Regions from separate parts of the Homo sapiens genome. Here region 2 is linked to region 1. Evidence: promoter capture Hi-C in human tissues and cell types (Jung and others, 2019). All regions are on one chromosome and are shown on one strand. The core of a region is centred on a gene start or on the middle of the fragment in contact, and the rest is flanking DNA. Distances in the headings are between cores, read along the strand shown. Region 1 holds the start of NEIL2 (nei like DNA glycosylase 2). Region 2 has its middle 48 kb from the start of DEFB136.

Region 1 (2,778 bases), core at 144-2,643:
TGCCTGGACTGTGAACCTCTAACACCTCCTGACTTTCTCTGTCCCCCTGCTCCCGCTCTCAAAAAACAGCCATTCTGACCCACTGCTGCCGACTTATTTCCCACTTTTGAAGGGACCAGATGCCGCCCTCCAGGACCGCCGACCACTAGCGTGGGGGAGGTGTGCATGAAACGACCAACACGCAGACAGAGCTCAGAATCATAAGTGAGACCCCCAGCCACGTAGGTAAGCCCGGCATAGCTACAGACAGTTATCTCTGATCCCCGAGAAACAGCTGTGGTTCTGTTCTAATCACCACGCAGGGCTCCCAGGGCCACCTCTACTCTCCCTGCCCCCAAATCATCCCAGTCCACTGACAGCCGCCTACATGAGGCAGTCTGAGTGGTGTACACCCGGGCTGTTCGGGCAGAGGAGACTCCCAGCCTCACCCGGGGCAGCTGCCTAACCACCTGTTCCTGCACCAGCCTCTCTATAAGTTATGATGAAAATCGAAAAGAACTAAGTAGATATCGGGCAGGGGGTAGCTATTATATTTCAGTGATTCTAAAAAACATTTTAGAATACTTTTAAAATCTAAGAAATGGTGACGGCTCACAATCTCGGCATTCTCATATTCGGCAGCAGCACATTCAATAACGCGCATCTTACACTCGCTGGTGCCGATTCGCTGAGATGTACTATTTCCCCTCATCAGGCTTTCCAGACACTCCCCAGGGAATCCTGACAAAACCGCCAGGCTGGAAGGAGACGTGCCAAACGCTGCTGACCTTAACCAGTTGGATGCCTGATCCTCTTCTACGGGGAAGCTTCTGGAAAAGCCTTCATCTGAAATGCACCAAGTCCTGAAAATCTCCGGACACGTGGGCATGTTTCGTTTAGGGATTTTTATGGAGATGGACAGGTGGGAAGCAAGCCGCCTCTGCAACAGCCTTGAAAGATGAGACGCGGAAGGGACTTCGAAGAGTCGCTGAAGATGCCGCGCCCACCCTCCGGCCCTCCCTGCCCGGGGGCTACCGAGGAGCTCGAGGCTGGCGCTGCGCCAGCCAGGGAAGAGGAGGGGTTGTCTCCGCCGTTCTCTTCCGAGTGCCCGAGGTGGGGGGTCTAAGACCACTGCTTTCCCAACTCTGCCTCGGGGTGCGGGGAGAGGGGCGCAGACGCGGGTCTGAGGGTCAGTGGGGGCCTCCAGGCGTGGGCAGCACCTCCGCAGGCGGCTGAGACGGAGGAGGGCCCGGGGCCCGCCCTCCCTTCCTGTCCCCTCCCGACTTCTCCGCCAGGCCGCAGATCTACCGGAGGGCGGGCGGCTGCACTCACCGGCTCCGGGTGGGTGGCACGTCGGCCCGACCCAGCACCGCTACGCAGCCCGCACAGCCGCTCCAGCTGGGGGCGGAGATTTCCCGGCTCGGCGGCCCATGCGGCCTCCGTCCCCTTAGGGGACGCCCCTGTAGGTGGAGGCTGCGGGGCTCCTCCCCCAAGTGGGCGTGGACTCCGGCCTGGAGGGGGTGGCGGGGTGCGCGCAGGCGCAGGGCTCATTCCCTGGAAAGTGGGTCTAGGTCGAGGCTGCTCTTTTGTGGGTGGGCGAGGGGTTCCATCCCGGGGGTCGCTGGAGGCAGGGCTGCATTAGAGGGTCGCGAGTGAAAGCAGGGATGGAAGAAGGGTGCAGGCTGGGACTAACATTGGAGAGACGCTCTTGGAAACTTTTTTTTTTTGCGGGGGGAGATAGTCTCGCTGTGTCACCCAGGCTGGAGTGCAGTGGCGCGATCTCGGCTCACTGCAACCTCCGCCTCCTGGGCTTAAGCCATTCTCCTGCCTCAGCCTCCCGAGTAGCTGGGATTACTGGCGCCCGGCTAATTTTTGTATTTTTAGTAGAGACCGGGTTTCACCATGTTGGCCAGGCTGGTCTTGAACTCCTGATCTCAGGTGAGCCGCCCTCCTCGGCCTCCCAAAGTGGTGGGATTACAGGCGTGAGCCACCGCACCCGGCCCTTTTGGAACATTTCTTGTCTCAAGGAGACAGTTATAGGGAAAAGTCAATGGGTGTGTGAATGGGACAGCCTGGGTGTTCCCACAATGGCAAGCCTTTCTGTGGGTTCTGCTTGGCCTCCGAGCCTAATGAAGTCGGGTGCAAAGGAAACAGGTGTTCAAGACTCGTGAAATGTTGAACGGGTGGGATTTTTTTGCTTTCTATTATTTGAATTTTATTACTTGAATTTTTACTATAAGCAAATTTTGCTTAAAGTATTTGTGTATTAAATTTTTTATTTCATAGAATAAAAGAGATAAAACAATAGGCTGTTTAAAGATACATATGTTTTCTTGTCTTTAGTTCTCGAAGGAGGATGGGGAGCCAGCACTTTCCAGGAAGTTGGGAGGAAAGTCTGGGGAACTCCCCAGCAGGTGTTCAGGAAATAGGCTGGGGTGAAGTCACCATGGACCCTAGCTGAGGGGTCCCTGGGGAAGGACTTGGTCAGCACAGGGAAACAAGCCCAGCCCACCGTCAGAGACATGGTTGTGTCCTACTGATTGAGAGGGAGGTTACAAGTGGCCTTCCCACAGTGGTCACCTACTGAACAGGCTAGGGCAGGAGGTGAGGAGAGGGAGGCCTGGGGAGGCCTAGGGTATAGGGTCCTCATCTAGAAAGGCATCTGGAGGCAGAGGGGATGAGGTTGGAGGGCATGGGGTTTGCAGGAGGCATCCCTTGAAGAGCCTCTGGTCCCCCTCTTTCTATGTCCGGCCTTTTCTGGAGAATAACGACCCCCCCACCCCCAGGATGCCCCTGCTA
Region 2 (2,778 bases), core at 171-2,670, 160 kb before region 1:
TGGATTTTTTTTTTTTTTTTAAAGCACCAGAGGTGGTTGCAATGAGGAAGTTTTTAGAGGCATCAAGCTCCAATGAGTAAGAACAGAAGTTAATTGTAATATGATTTCTTCAAATATTATCTTCCAATGCATTGTCCATCAACACCGTACCAATGTTTATTATGCTGTTGTTTCTTACCATTTAGCATTTTCTATTTTTTTTCTTTCTTTTTTTTTTTTTTCTTTTTGAGGCAGAGTTTCACTCTTGTTGCCCAGGCTGGAGTGCAATGGCACGATCTCGGCTCACTGCAATCTCTGCCTCCCGTATTCAAGTAATTCTCCTGTCTCAGCCTTCCAAGTAGCTGGGATTACAGGCATGCGCTACCATGCCTGGCTAATTTTATTTTTTATTTATTTATTTATTTATTTTTTGGTATTTTTAGTACAGACAGTGGTTCTCCATATTGGTTAGGCTTGTCTTGAAGTCCCTACCTCAAGTGATCCGCCCGCTTCCACCTCCCAGTGTTCTGGGATTACAGGCGGGAGGGACCGCACCCAGCCACCACTTAGCATTTTCATTTTACATTTGTTGAAATTATAGATTTATACACACATTGATTGCTGCTTTGTTATACACTTGCATATACATAAGATGGGAAATAGAAAAGAATAAAATGGGCACAGTATCCCTGAAGTTTCACATTCCGAGACAAGTTAAAAATATTTGCTTTTTAGAAATTTGTTTCAATTGAGAAACTGTGGTATACACACACAATGAAGTATTATTCAGGCTAAAAAGGAATAAATAAAATTCTCTCCACTGCAGACAAAATGGATGAGATTGCAGGTCTGTATATGAAGTGAAATAAGCCAGGCACAGAATGACAACTATTTCATGTCCTCACTTCTATGTAGGATCAAAAAAGAAAATCTTGGCCAAGTGTGGTGGCTCAGGCCTGTAATCCCAGCACTCTGGGAGGCCGAGTCGTACGGATCACTTGAGGCCAGGAGTTCGAGACCCACCTGGCCAACATGGTGAAACCCTGTCTCTACTGAAAACACAAACAATTAGCCAGGCGTGGTGACGCATGCCTGTAGTCTCAGCTACTCGGAGGGCTGGGGCCCAAGAAGCGCTTGAACTCGGGAGGCGGAGCTTGCAGTGAGCCCGGATTGTGCCTGTGTACTCCAACCTGGGCAACAGAAAGAGACTCCATCACACACCTACACACAAAAGGAATCTCAGGAAGGTGGAGAGTATAAAGGGGGTTAGCAGATGCTAGGAAGAAAAGGGGTGGGATGGGGAATGAAGACAAGTGGATAATTGGGTCCCAAAATACAGAAAGATGGAATAAGTGAGTTCTAGTGTTTGATAGTACAGTATGAAAATTTTAGTTCACAAGAATTGCTTGCATATTTCCAGATGCTTTGGTAAGAAGCTTCCTCATTTTCTCATTATGCTGGTTTTTCAGCTATTCTCTTTCTGCTCTCGATATCGTGCTGGATTTTCTGTTTTTGGTTTTTTGTTTTGAGACAGAGTTTCACTTTTGTTGCCCAGGCTGGAGTGTAATGGTGCAATCTTGGCTCACCACAACCTCTGCCTCCTGGGTTCAAGCGATTCTCCTGCCTCCATCTCCTGAGCAGCTGGGGTTACAGGCATGCCCCAGCACGCTCAGCTAATGTTGTATTTGTAGTAGAGACGGGGGTTTCTTCCTGTCTGTCAGGCTGGTTTTGAACTCCTGACCTCAGGTGATCCACCCGCCTCGGCCTCCCAAAGTGCTTGGATTACAGGTGTGAGCAACTGTGCTCGGCCCATGCTGTATCCTTATCTGGTGTCTGTTGTTGTTTGTTTGTTCTGGAGCCCAGAAATAAGTTCTCACCTATATGTTCAAATGATTTTTAACATGAGTGCTAAGAAAACTCATTGGTGGAAAAGCAGCCTTTTCAAGAAATGGTGTTGGAGAAACTTGATTTCCACATGCAGAAGAATGAAGGTGGACCCTATGTCACACCAGGTGCAAAAATTAACACAAACTGGGTCAAAGCCCTAACCCCAAGTGCTGAAAGTATAATATGCCTAAAAGAAAACATTGGCCACGCTTTCATGACATCAGATTGGGCAATGCTGTCTGGGATATGACACCAAAAGCATAGGCAACAAAAGAAAATTAGATTCCTTGGATTACATCTAAATGACAGACACTTTTGTGCATCAGCAAACACTGTGAACTGTGAAAAGATAACCCATGGATTAGGAAAAATATTTGCAAATCATATCTCTGAAAAGAGGCTGATATGCGTCATATACAAAGAACAGCTAGAACTGAACAACAAGAAACTCAAAGCATCCCATTAACAATGGTCAGAAGACTCGAGTAGACACGTCGTTAAGAAGATATAGCAATAGCCAGTAAGCATCTAAAATGATATTCAAAATCACTCATCATAGGGAAGTGCAAATCAAACCAAGAATGTGATACCACACATTAGGATGGATATGATAAACAAACAAGCATTGGTGAGACGAGAGGGAAGTAGGAATGCTCGAATCTGATTGGAGGGAATGTAAAACCATGAAGGAACAGGGAAAATAGTATGGTGTATACTGGAAAAAGTAGAAACAGGATTATCAGATGTTCCCGCTGTTGCACTTGTGGGCACCTGCCAAAAGAATTAGAAGCCAGGAGTGGAAGAGAGATTTGTACACCCAAATTCATAGCAGCATTATTCACAAGAGCCAAAATGTGGAAGCAACCCAAGGGTTTGTGGACAGTTGAATGAAAAAGCACACTGCAGTTCCTT

The links. The method cuts DNA at HindIII sites, captures the fragments that hold promoters and counts their contacts. A contact is called where the count stands out against the background at its distance.
Region 2: a contact is called between a fragment that was not itself captured here and the fragment with the promoter of NEIL2 in region 1, in 5 of the 25 tissues and cell types used here (H1 embryonic stem cells, aorta, lymphoblastoid cells and 2 more).

Annotation. Positions count from the first base shown.
Region 1 is chr8:11,768,325-11,771,102 of GRCh38, reverse strand. It overlaps NEIL2 (nei like DNA glycosylase 2), which reads right to left and starts at 1,393. Exons shown (of 5, transcript NM_145043.4): 1 at 768-1,393. LOC124901888 (a long non-coding RNA gene) reads left to right here. Exons shown (of 2, transcript XR_007060824.1): 1 at 1-225; 2 at 695-2,301. RefSeq lists silencers at 1,003-1,132, 1,173-1,582 and an enhancer at 743-1,243. The HindIII fragment of the contact is 20,018 bases long and covers 1-2,778 here.
Region 2 is chr8:11,925,107-11,927,884 of GRCh38, reverse strand. No RefSeq gene overlaps it. Among named protein-coding and RNA genes, the nearest start is that of DEFB136, 48 kb to the left of the region's middle. The HindIII fragment of the contact is 7,723 bases long and covers 1-2,778 here.